2 separate regions of the Homo sapiens genome follow, and region 2 is linked to region 1. Evidence: promoter capture Hi-C in human tissues and cell types (Jung and others, 2019). All regions are on one chromosome and are shown on one strand. Each heading gives the region's core, a stretch centred on a gene start or on the middle of the fragment in contact. The rest is flanking DNA. Distances are from core to core; before and after follow the strand shown.

The links. Contacts are between HindIII fragments. The study calls those that stand out against the background at their distance.
Region 2: a fragment that was not itself captured here is called in contact with the fragment with the promoter of CYS1 in region 1 in 2 of the 25 tissues and cell types used here (adrenal gland and pancreas).

The regions. Positions count from the first base shown.
Region 1 is chr2:10,078,961-10,084,899 of GRCh38, reverse strand. It overlaps CYS1 (cystin 1), which reads left to right and starts at 4,489. Exons shown (of 3, transcript NM_001037160.3): 1 at 4,489-4,994. The coding sequence starts at 4,677. RefSeq lists an enhancer at 1,871-1,930 and silencers at 4,175-4,414, 4,585-4,644, 4,705-4,944, 5,015-5,354. The HindIII fragment of the contact is 24,294 bases long and covers 1,111-5,939 here.
Region 2 is chr2:10,342,572-10,348,485 of GRCh38, reverse strand. The region is part of intron 1 of HPCAL1 (hippocalcin like 1); the gene reads right to left. Among named protein-coding and RNA genes, the nearest start is that of HPCAL1, 43 kb to the right of the region's middle. RefSeq lists an enhancer at 3,841-4,341. The HindIII fragment of the contact is 6,918 bases long and covers 1-5,902 here.

The DNA.
Region 1 (5,939 bases), core at 3,240-5,739:
GCTACCTGGTCATTTTTTTTTCTTAAATATAAGCAGGAGTCAGTGGGGGATGATGCCCTTGTCCCATGTAAAGATCTTAATCGCTCCTTAGGTCCGATGCCCACTTCTCACTCCCATCTCCTTTTATACCCGCTGACTGTGTCCCGGAGTCTCATCTGTCAGTCCATTGACCCCGTTTCCTCTCCAGCGTCTGTCATCATGGCATAGACTGCAATTGCTCAGCCTGTGTCATCTGGCAGCTCTCTACTGTCAGTTTTCCATCTTTCAGAAATGCGTTGAAACCTCTCCTTTGTGATTTCCCTCCTTCTTACAACTCCTCCTCTATCCCTTTTTCTTTTATCTTAATTCCAGCAAAGTCGCAAGTACCAAGAGAAGGCAACTCTGCACCCGGTCTGCTGTTTTGAGCCAGAAGCCATGAGATGCCTCTAAACGAGAACTGCTCTAGTCATGGAAAGTATGCATCGTAAATTCCAGTGCTAAACCTTTTGTTTAGATGGGGTACAAGTCATTGTCATTTTACTGTCAGAATTTTTTACAGTGTTATAGAACGCACCAAATCAGCCATGACCTGGACCTGCCAACCCTAAGGACCTCATGTATCTTATTTCTGAGTAAATATTGAAAAAAGTTCTGTAACTCATTAATTGTCCTTAATGAATAATGGTGATTCACCCTTATATTTTGTTTTCCCCTCTTGATGCCGAAACCATGAAACCAAATACAAAAGCTTGGACACTTTGGTAAAAGACAATAGCAATTATGTGGGCTGCTGCTGTCCAAACATATCAGCATTCGTTAATAGCACTGTGGCTCTCTCAAGTTACCGATTAAGCATTAAAAATAGAAACATGGCTTGCTTATGTTTCAAATGCCGTCTCATTTATCACCCAAATGCAAATATTATCTGTCTGCATATTCATAAGAACCAGCACCTGCACAACACATCTTTCTTACGTAACGGCTTGGGAGTGCCATGATTGGTGGGAAACTGCAGGATATCTGAGCAGGGAGAGTAGATCTGCGAGTCCTGAAGCAGGGGCCCTGGAGTGGGGTTTTGAAAGGTGGGTTGGTTTGGCAGGCTATTGTAATGACTGGTCCATGAGTCGTGGTGGGAGGAACTGGCTTCATCTGCAGTAGATGCCTGGCTACTCCTGAAACCAAGGAAAACATCGTTCGGGCGCCCGAGTCCTTCCGAAAAGTATCACCAACTGTAGTCCTCTTCCAGGGTTTAATTTGTTTAAGGAAAGGAAGTTCTATTTTCCCAGAGTTAAGCAGAGAGTTCCCAAACTGGGCTTCACCTTCCACCCACCATCACCAGCACCCACGAGCACTATCACCGCATAAAAGAATCCTTCAGCTGCAGGTGTGACTGCCAGATATTTTCTTAAGAAGGATTACACCCCATTTCAGTTCTCCAATATTCCTGAGACGTTGCTAACTCTTTCGGACAAAAATTCTAGAGACGATCTTAGGGACATTAGTCATGCGGAAAGCTTTTAGGTTGTTTGCTTATTATGGGAAGCTTCTAATAAAATCAATCTGAGTTTTCAGCATATTTGATGGAAGCCAGGTCTACAAATGTAGCAGATTTTAAAATGTTCTCTCAAAGTGGAAAGAATGCTGGCTCTGGCATTCCTCCCGCTGAAGCGGAGCTAATGACAAGTTTTGGGAAACAGTGTTGGAATCAAGAGTGGCCAGAAAAATTGGTTGCCCTGGGAGGTGAACACAGGGAGCTGTGGATGTATTTAAACATGAGTCACATGACTAGCTTCTATTTAGGCAGAAGCAAAACATGTTTTCCTTTAAATCATTAAACTGAGTGAACTCAAGAAAAATCTCGTTTGCCTCTAAGTGTTGTTGTTCTTTGGGGTTTAAAGAGTTTCAAGATGAGATTTGTTTTCTTAAAAACTTATATCAATAGCTTCCAAACGAGACACATCTGTAGACTTAGCGCACCCAAATGACATCTGTGTTTGGCCCCACATCCTACACCTGGATGGTTAAGATGGCACATCAAAAAAAAGGGGGGGAGAGGCCAGGCACGGTAGCTTACGCCTGTAATCCCAGCACTTAGGGAGGCCAAGGCAGGTGGATTACCTGAGGTCAGGAGTTCAAAACCAGCCTGGCGAACATGGTGAAACCCTGTCTCTACTAAAAATACAAAAATTAGCCGGATGTGGTGGTGCGTGCCTGTAATCCCAGCTGCTCAGGAGCCTGAAGCAGAAGAATCACTTGAACCCGGGAGGCGGAGGTTGCAGTGAGCAGAGATCCGGCCACTGCACTACAGCCTGTGCAACAGAGCGAGACTCCGTCTCAAAAAAAAGGCAGGGGGGATCATAAATACTTCCCTTTAAAAAATTTTTTTTCTTTTCTTTTTGCTTTTTCTTTATTGTTTGTTGTTGTTGTTGTTTGTTTTGTTTTTTTTTTTTTTTGAGACGGAGTCTCTTTGGTTGCCCAGGCTGGAGTACAGTGGTGCGATCTCGGCTCACTGCAACCTCCGCCTAACGGGTTCAAGTGACTCCTGCCTCAGGCTCCCGAGCAGCTAGGACTACAGGTGCCCTTCACCATGCCCGGCTAATTTTTGTATTTGTAGTAGAGACAGGGTTTCATCCTATTGGCCAGGCTGGTCTCGAACTCCTGACCTGAAGTGATCCGCTCGCATCAGCCTCCTAAAGTGCTGGGATTACAGCCTCATTTTTTTTCTCTTCTTTTTCTTTTCCCTCTCTGTCTCACCTCTCTTCTCTCTCTCTTTTCTTTTCTTTCTTTCTTTTTTTTTTTTTGAGACAGAGTCCAGCTCTGTTGCCCAGGCTGGAGTGCAGTGGCGTGATCTCGGCTCACTGCAACCTCCACCTCCTGGGTTCAAGTGAGCATGCCCAGCTAATTTTTGTATTTTTAGTAGAGACAGTTTCACCATGTTGGCCAGGCTGGTCTCAAACTCCTCACCTAAAGTGATCTGCTCGCCTCAACCTCTGAAAGTGTTGGGATTACAGGCATGAGCCACCACGTCCAGCTAGATTATAAATACTTTCTTGTTCTTTTTTTTTTTTTTTTTTTTGAGACGAGCCTCACTCTGTCGCCCAGGCTGGAGTGCAGTGGCGCGATCTCGGCTCACTGCAACCTCCACCTCCCGGGTTCACGCCATTCTCCTGCCTCAGTCTCCTGAGTAGCTGGGACTACAGGCGCCCGCCACCACGCCCGGCTAATTTTTTGTATTTTTAGTAGAGACGGTGTTTCACCGTGTTAGCCAGGATGGTCTCGGTCTCTTGACCTCGTGATCCACCTGCCTCGGCTTCCCAAAGTGCTGGGATTACGGGCGTGAGCCACCGCGCCCGGCCTCTTGTTCTCTCTTAATAATAAAAATAAATGGATGTGAATCTGAGTCCCATTTTTATTCCATTTTCTTAGGCATATGTTTTTTAATGTCTACTCCTGAAGTGATAAAATAGTAGAATTTCAAGTCTGTGGTTGGGAAAGTTTAGCCGAAATTCCATTTTCACAATTATTCTGGAATCCAATCAATCAGGATAAAAGTTAATGTCAAGTCAAGATAGGTGAGTTAAACCCAGGACTTTTGAATTGCCCTGTCTTGGAAAGGCTGGAATTTAAAGTTGCAGGAGGTGGGCAAGGGAAGGAAGTAATCACATTTAAGTAAAACACAGAACCAACCAACAGGAAGGCTCGCTGGGTTTGAATTCGGCAGCTTTGGAGTGTTTTCTAGTCTGGGTTGTGGTTAGTTCACTTAAAAAGAAAAGCGGTTAAGGGAAAAAAAAAAAAAATCCGAGACCAAAAGCTAGACTTATGACCACCACCTAGGTATTTCCTTTTGCTTCTTTCCTGTGGCGGGGGGAGGGCGAGGTGGGGGTTGCTTTGCCTTTCTCCTTCATTTTCAAAGTTTTTCTTTCCCAAAAGTAGTGACTATTTGGAGGTTTTGATGAGGCTCAACCTTCACACATCCAGTCTCCGCTGGGGCAACAGAGGGAAGGAGAAGGCCGGAGGGGGCTGTTGGTGCCCGGAGGATCGCCCCTTCCCTCCCGGGGCGTCTCAGGCCTGGCGGACACTGAAAGGTCGGGGCGCACTGACGGCCGGACCTCGCGAACGCAGCGCGCGCAGCCCTCAGGGTCTTTCCCCCGCCCACCCCGCGCATCGCTAGGGGGCTCAGGCTTTGGGAAGTCCCCCCAAGCTCCCGCGGCCTCCCACGGGCCCGGCGAGCGTCGTCTGGGGAGCGTTTCCATAAATGAACAAACTCAGCCGGGCCCCCCGCAGGGTTCAGCAATTCCAGAAGGCCGGGACAGGGCTGACCCGACGGCGGGGAGCGAGGGGACCCGTGGGCGGGAGTGGGGGGACTGTAGGGGGAGACCCGGGAGGGGAGGCCGCGCCCGCACCCGGTGCTCCTCGCCGGGGTCTCGGGCCCGCCCCTCCCTAGGGCCGGTGTGCGCCCCCTCGGGACGCCTATGCAGCCCTGCCTCGCCCGCCCCTCCCCAGGCTCCGGCTCGCACCCCCGTCCTCCGGCCGCGACCCCCGCCCGGGAACCCTAGCCCCTGGCCGCGGTCGCTTCCCGGACCTCGCCCCGCGCCTCCCCCTGCAGCCCGCCCCGGCCGCACCCCCTAGCGTCCCCGCCCCCGGCCGCGCCCCCTCATGGGGGCCCCCTCGGCGGTCCGGGAGGCGGCGGGCGCGCCATGGGCAGCGGCAGCAGCCGGAGCAGCCGGACTCTGAGGCGGCGGCGCAGCCCCGAGAGCCTCCCCGCGGGGCCCGGAGCGGCAGCCCTGGAGGGCGGGACCCGCCGGCGGGTGCCGGTGGCGGCGGCCGAGGTCCCGGGGGCAGCCGCGGAGGAGGCGCCCGGCCGCGACCCCAGCCCCGTGGCGCCCCCCGACGGCAGGGACGAGACGCTGCGCCTGCTGGACGAGCTGCTGGCCGAGTCGGCGGCCTGGGGCCCCCCGGAGCCCGCCCCGCGCCGCCCAGCCCGGCTCCGACCCACCGCGGTCGCGGGGAGCGCGGTGAGTGTGGGAGCCGCAGGGCCTCGGGGGACGGCGGGGACCCCACTCACCGGCCGCGCGTCCCCGCCCCAGCCCTGGGCGCCGGTCGCGCTGCGCCCCCTTCCAGCCTCCGACTTGCGTGCTCCCCGCTGCCCCGGCCTCCCCGCCCCTGGGCCCCCAGGTTTCCTCCCTCTCTGCCCCGTCTCCGGGTCTGTGTCCAGGCGTGGGGGCGATCGCGCTGGGAGCGGCCGAGGAAGGACACCCCTAGGCGGAGCGCGCCGGGCTCCCGGCTCCCCTCGGGCCCGCGGCCCCGCCTGGCCTTCCCGGGCCGCCCTGGAGCGGGGCGCCGGCGGTGGTGGCACGGCAGCCAGACGGTGGCTCAGAAGCGCCCTGCCGCGCCCACCGGTCCAGATCCTTGCCTTGCTGGGCAGGCAATTCTCATGTTACTGATATTTTTAGGATGCTGCGGAATCTCTTTTGCGCTTCCTATTCTCTCTCCCTGAATACTCGTAATAACAGTCCTGCTGTTCTAAAAAAACAATAAAACAAGCACTCTGGTTTGGCAACCGTCTTCGCTCCAGCAGAGCTGAATGAACAAGATCTTTAACATCCGCTCCCGGGCTCGGGGAGGATGCCAAGGGCCTCGTCCTCCTCCCTGAGGCCCGGGAGGCTTTGCTTAGCAGCCGCTGGGAGCCGAGGAAGATGCCTTCCTGGGTGGCTACCGCACCAAGGAATCCTGAAAAGGCCCCAGGGAGGGTGGGGGAGAGGGACAGCCCCAGGCGACAGTGCACAGAGCTCTCTCCCTCTGGCCCTGGTTCCCTGCTCCTCTCCCTTACGGTCTTTAAAGAGGAAAAGCGAGCTGCAGTGAGTAGGGCTGAATTATATAACAAGATTCCTTTAATACCACATCAGCCTGCAGTTATATAACACTGCCTGGACAAATAGCTGAGAAATTTGGGAGGAATT
Region 2 (5,914 bases), core at 1,194-3,693, 270 kb before region 1:
GGCCCAGAGTTTTTTCTGTTGTTGTTTTTTGTTTTTTGAGATGGAGTCTTGCTCTGTCGTGCAGGCTGGAGTGCAGTGGAGCGATCTCGGCTCACTGCAACCTCCGCCTCTTGAGTTCAAGTGATTCTCCTGCCTCAGCCTCCCGAGTAGCTGGGATTACAGGTGTGTACCACCATGCCCAGCTAATTTTTGTATTTTTAGTAGAGATGAGGTTTCACCATGTTGGCAGGCTGGTCTTGAACTCCTGATCTTAGGTGAACTGCCCACCTTGGCCTCCCAAAGTGCTGGGATTACAGGCATGAGCCACTGTGCCCGGGCTGGCCCCTAGTATTTTTAAAGAAACACAATGTCACTGCTCTGATGTGTACAAAATAAGTGATTAAGAGGTCCGTCTCACTGACCCTAAATCCCTGCCCCCTTGAACTTGATCTTGCTTTTATATCCCCACCATGCTAGGCTTACAGTAGGTATCTAATCACTGTGTTAAAGCATGAACAAATGCAAGCTTAAGAGTGACTTATGAAGATACCAATCTTTCTCCTGTAAACCAGGGCTTCTGAAATGGTCCTTCTACAGCACTCCTCCCCTCCCCCATTCCCACGCTGCATTTTCTTATGTTTGAGACACAGTTTGCTAAACCCAACCTTGTCTGAATTAATGAGGACACAGAAGTGAAGGGTTTGGGGAGCTAAACATTAAACCGATTTGGCCCATACTCCGTGCCAGGCTTCATACTGGATCCCCGTGAAACACAGGAAGCCTCAGAAAATGCCCAACCCCGCCCCGCAGACACAGTGCCATGGGAAAGGCTGCTGCTGGAGTGTTTAAACCTGTGAGGAACAGCACCAGAAAGGCCCAGACAGCCAGAGCGGGGCCTGAAGGAAAAGCAGGGTGGGTGCTGAGGACAGACACCCACAGATCAGCTCCTGGGACCCCAGGGTGGCAGGAGGCACTTCCAAAGGAGAAGTAGTGGGTGTGGCCATTTTAAACCTCTTTCCTCCTCCCCACGCCCACCTTTGCCCCACCGTGGTCCACATCTGGGGCTGGAACTTAGGCGAAGTGACCATTATCAGGCGCTGGGGGGCACATTTTATACCATCAGGAAATTCCTGTGAGCCAAGTCAGTCCCAGCACATGGGCCTTCCCTGAAGGCCCTGCTCCCCATGAGACTCTGAGACAGGGCTCTGCCTGGTGTGGATGACAGGCTCAGAAAAGGGTGGGCCGGGGGCTGGGTGACCAAGCCAACGACGGAAGGAGCAAGTTGTTCTAAAGAACAGGCGCCCACCGTATGGGTCACGGATGCCAGGGAGGCAGACACTCCCTCTCACTGAGGCCGGCCTGTGTGTCAGGCTGAACTCCAGCACCTGCGGGGGGCGGGGGCGGTGCGGGGCTCTCTAGAGACTTCTGAAAGTGAATCCCAGTAATGTCAAACTCATCTATGAGCACTCTGCTCCTCTGAGGATGAAAACAGTTCGCACCACTCTGCAAACAAATATAAATCCCTTAGAAACTAATCTGGGTGGGTGGGTGGGGTGGTGGGGATGACAAGAGGAACAAATGTTTAAAATCTAACATCCTCCAGGGTGGTCCTGACCCCAGTTAGAAGGAGAGAGAAGGAAGAGGGTGGGGGGAGGGAGCCAGGGCCTGTCTGTGCTGGGGAGGGAGCAGTGGAGGAGCACAAAGACATGGAGAAGGAAGGGGAGGAAGGGGAGAGAAGTGAGAAGCTCTCACAGTCTCGTTTTTGTACTATCATGGTGAAAACACAGTACACTTCATTCTGTTTGATGATGCCAACGCCTGCTACTGGAAAACACTCTCCTTGCACATCATATCCATAAATAAATGCCAGTCCCGGGTCTGTGGGTCTCAGCCTGGTAGACCGGTTATGTCAACTGGACAGTGCTTTTAATGGACCATTTATAGCCTGACTGGCTCACAACAAAAATGCCTGCACGGAGACCTAGAGGGTTAAACATCTCTTTAAGACAGAACTGCCTCCCAATTGAAAGAGGAAAAAAGCCACAGAGGGGACTGGGGCCAGGCAGACAAAGTTAACATTTGAGGATGAGGGAGCACCTCCCCCAAGACTCCACAGCCAAGCCCTGAATGAGGCACGTGGGCTGTGATGGGGTCAGTCCCATTCCATCCCCTCCCAATTCTGGCATGAGGGCTTCTCCCACCATATCCCCAGAGCCTCGAGACAGAATACCAGGAGGCTCCCCATGGCCCCCACAACATCAGCAGTCACTGCTGCTCCCCAACTTTCTCCCCGTCACCCCCCCTCAAAGAAGGACATGAGTGCAGCTGTGCTAGTGTCCTACTGGGAGGCCACCAGCCCCTGATGGACCAAGGGGGGTCTGAGGACCCCAAGGCATTGCACATAAGTGTTTGCATGCATACACACACACACACAGCCTGGCTCTCTCACACATACACAGACACACACACCCCCAGGGCACACACTCAGACACACCCACACACTCACACTTCCACTTATTCCCACAATTGTTCTTCCTGGTTTGGATCAACAGACCATCTGTGTGCTTGTGTGACTTAGGAAATCTTCCAAAATACGGCAAAAGTTCGCAGTCCTTGCCCCTTTTGTGGTGGGGGAGGGGCGTCATAAATAGTTTTCTAGTTTCTTTATATTTTCTATTTTACAGTGAACATGCATGTATCACTTTTATATTCAGAAAAAGTTAAAACACAAAATTTTTAAAAGTTTTTCTGGATGGGTGCAGTGGCTTATGCCTATAATCCTAGCACTTTGGGAGGCTGAAGTGAGAGGATCGCTTAAGCCCAAGAGTTCGAGACCAGCCCAGGCAGCATAGCAAGACCCTGTCTCTACAAAAAATACAAAAATTAGCTGGGTGTGGTGGCTCACACCTGTAGTCCCAGCTTCTTGGGAGGCTGAGGTGGGAGAATCGCTTGGGCCTGGGAAGTCAAGGTTGCAGTAGGCCAAGATTGTGCCACCACTCCAGCCTGGGTGACAGCAAGACCCTGTCTCAAAAAAAAAAAAAAGTTTTTCTAGGACAAATAATAAATAGTACCACAGTAGGTCACATTCATCTCATCTTGACCCACACAACAGCACTGTGAAGTAGTGCTTCCATTTTACAAATGAAGAAACCCAGGATAAGGGAACTTGAAAGCCGCCCAAGGTCACCCAGCTAGCAAGTGGCAAAAACGCAGAGTACAGTATTATCACTCCTGGGAAAAAGGTTCCTCTAGTCTGTCCCAAAGACGGAGAGAGAGACACACACAGAGAGACAGAAAGAAAGAGACAGACAGACAGGCAGGCACAGAGATAGAGAGATTGAAACAGAGAGAGCAAGACAGACAGAAACAGAGACAGACACATACAGAGACAGAGACAGACACACAGAGAGAGGCAGAAAGAGACTGCAAGACAGGCACAGAGAGAGACAGAAAGAGAGAGAGAGAGAAACAGACACATAGAGAGAGGCAGAAAGAGACTGAAAGGCACAGAGAGAGAGACACACAGAAAAAGAGAGAGAGATGGACACATAGAGAGAGGCAGAAAGAGACTGAAAGGCACAGAGAGAGAGACACACAGAGAGAAAGAGAAACGGACACATAGAGAGAGGCAGAAAGAGACTGAAAGGCACAGAGAGAGACACACACAGAAAGAGAGAGACAGAGACAGACACAGAGAGAGAAGCAGAAAGAGACAGAAAGTCAGGCACAGAGAGAGACACACACAGAAAGAGGGAGAGAGAAACAGACACATAGAGACAGACAGACAGACACAGAGAAAGAGACAGAGACAGAGCAAGTCCTGGGAGGAAGGGAAGGGGGAGCAGAGTACTGTGGAGTGTGGGACGCCCGTCTTACTCATTTGATTATAAAATATTTCTGAGCTGCCAGATGGTATAATAGTGGCTGCAGATGCCCCGATAGCTTTTCTTCATTTCTTTGCACAGGGCTCCATTTCAGGGCCTGAAGAGTGATATCTAAGAAGCTATTCTGGAGTTCCATAAAGACAATCACTATACAACTATGGAATCGCCGCTTGGTGCATGCGCTTAACAGATGTGCACTGGTTCTGGCTTCCTGGATAAACGGGCCTTATGCTAATCGTGAGGCACCTAGCGGCACTTCGGGGCCCCCCTTGCTGGCACATGGCCTGCTCAGGCAGGGATGGGATCTGGGCTTGTTACGTAATTAATCCTTGGCTCAGGGCTGCTGCACACCCCACACAGACGCTGGTCGAAGTGATGCCTATGGGGAAAGCAAGCATCAAAGACCACGTCCCCAGGGTCCTCTGAGCCAGGAGCGGCCGAGACTTCGAGATCAAAGCTGTAGGGTTAATGAGTTCACTGCAGTCCTCAACCGTCTGCTTGTTTTGTTCTGGCTTTTTCGTGTTGTGTTTTGTTTAGTTTTTAATAAGGGAGTCTTCATCCCTGCTCCTTCGACAGCTCAGTAACCCAGTTAGAAAGCAACAGCTCTGTGCAGGATGCACCACACAGCCGCCGGTACTCCTGCCGGGTCTGAAGCCAGCGTTCTCTATATCCCAAGAGGTGCAGCCTCCCAGGAGGCATGGAGGCCCAAGCCTCACTCCAGAACTGCTTGCTTGGGAAGCGCACAGCCATGGGCCATGTGTTCATCCCTGAGGCCTGCCCCCTCTTCTCTTTCTGCCCTCATCTCTCCTCTCTCCCCTCAGCCCTGAGCCACGCCCAGCACAAGAGAACAGCAGAAAGACTTTCTATGCCATCTGCCACTGATCTAAAAGTCCCTTCGCAAGGATGAGTTTTGTTTCTGCTCTTAAAATTTAGCCTGGTTTCAGCCTGATCTCTTGGACTTGGCATTGGCCACGGTCAATCCAGTGTCTGCAGTCAAAGCAGTGGCAGCTTGCAAACCCATATAGTGGAGGTCCCACCTAAAGCCATGCCCACCCTAAAAATCCTCCAGACTTCAAGAAACCTCCAAGTTCAGAAGCAAAAGAAAGGAAGACCCAGGGAACAGCAGGAATCACTTGCATGGAAGTCTGTGGACAAACTAGGCTGGCTCACCTGCCTGCCTATGCAAACACCCACCTCCCACCCGGGAGTCCTGGAGGGAGATATGGTGCTATCAGTCCTTCACATGCTAGTGAGAATTAGCATCATCTTGCTCCTAGAAGAGAGTCATTACTCCGAGGATTGAGATCAGCCTTCTCAGCAGAGTGGCAGGGGAAGAGGAGATAAGTAATTTGAATGTGGTGTGTTTTATGGGGACGGGGCAGGCCTCCATGGTGTGCTAGAGGTCCAGGGTCCCAGGAGAGGGGTGATGGGGCTATTTACCAACTACCATGGAAGTTATTTTAATATTGTGACAGTGCACGGCTTGCCAGTGCATACCCACTGCACATCAGAGCTGCGGGCCCACTTGGAAACACACAGGGCCTGGAGCTGGGGAAGGACCCCTACTCTACACACACATCCAGAGGCACATTGAGTTTAAAACTTGCAACAGCTGGCAGGGCACTGATATCCCACACAGAAGACAGAAGCTTCAAACCAGCACTGGCCATCTCCAAAGCCAGGCCCCAGGGAGCAACATCCTGTCCAAAAAGGGGCCGGGGGAAGGCAGCGGGGAGAGGTACCAACTGCCACCCACAGGCCATAGCCTTGGTCTTCAGCCATGAGATGGACAGAAGAAGAGAATCCTCAGAGGCCGGCCAGAGCATCCTGCGTAGCTACTGGAGGGCAGCTGGCCCAACCGGGAACAGATTGTGCCTCTCTTTGCCCAGGAGTCCGGCTGGGTGACAAAACAAAACTCAACGAGAAAGAATGAGAGTCATGAGAGGGAGCTCAGAGCACAGTGCAAACACACGGGGTTCCTCCAGCCAGCACCTCTGCACATGCTGTTCCCTAGGCCTGGAATGCTTTCACCTCAATTTCCTCCCCTGCCA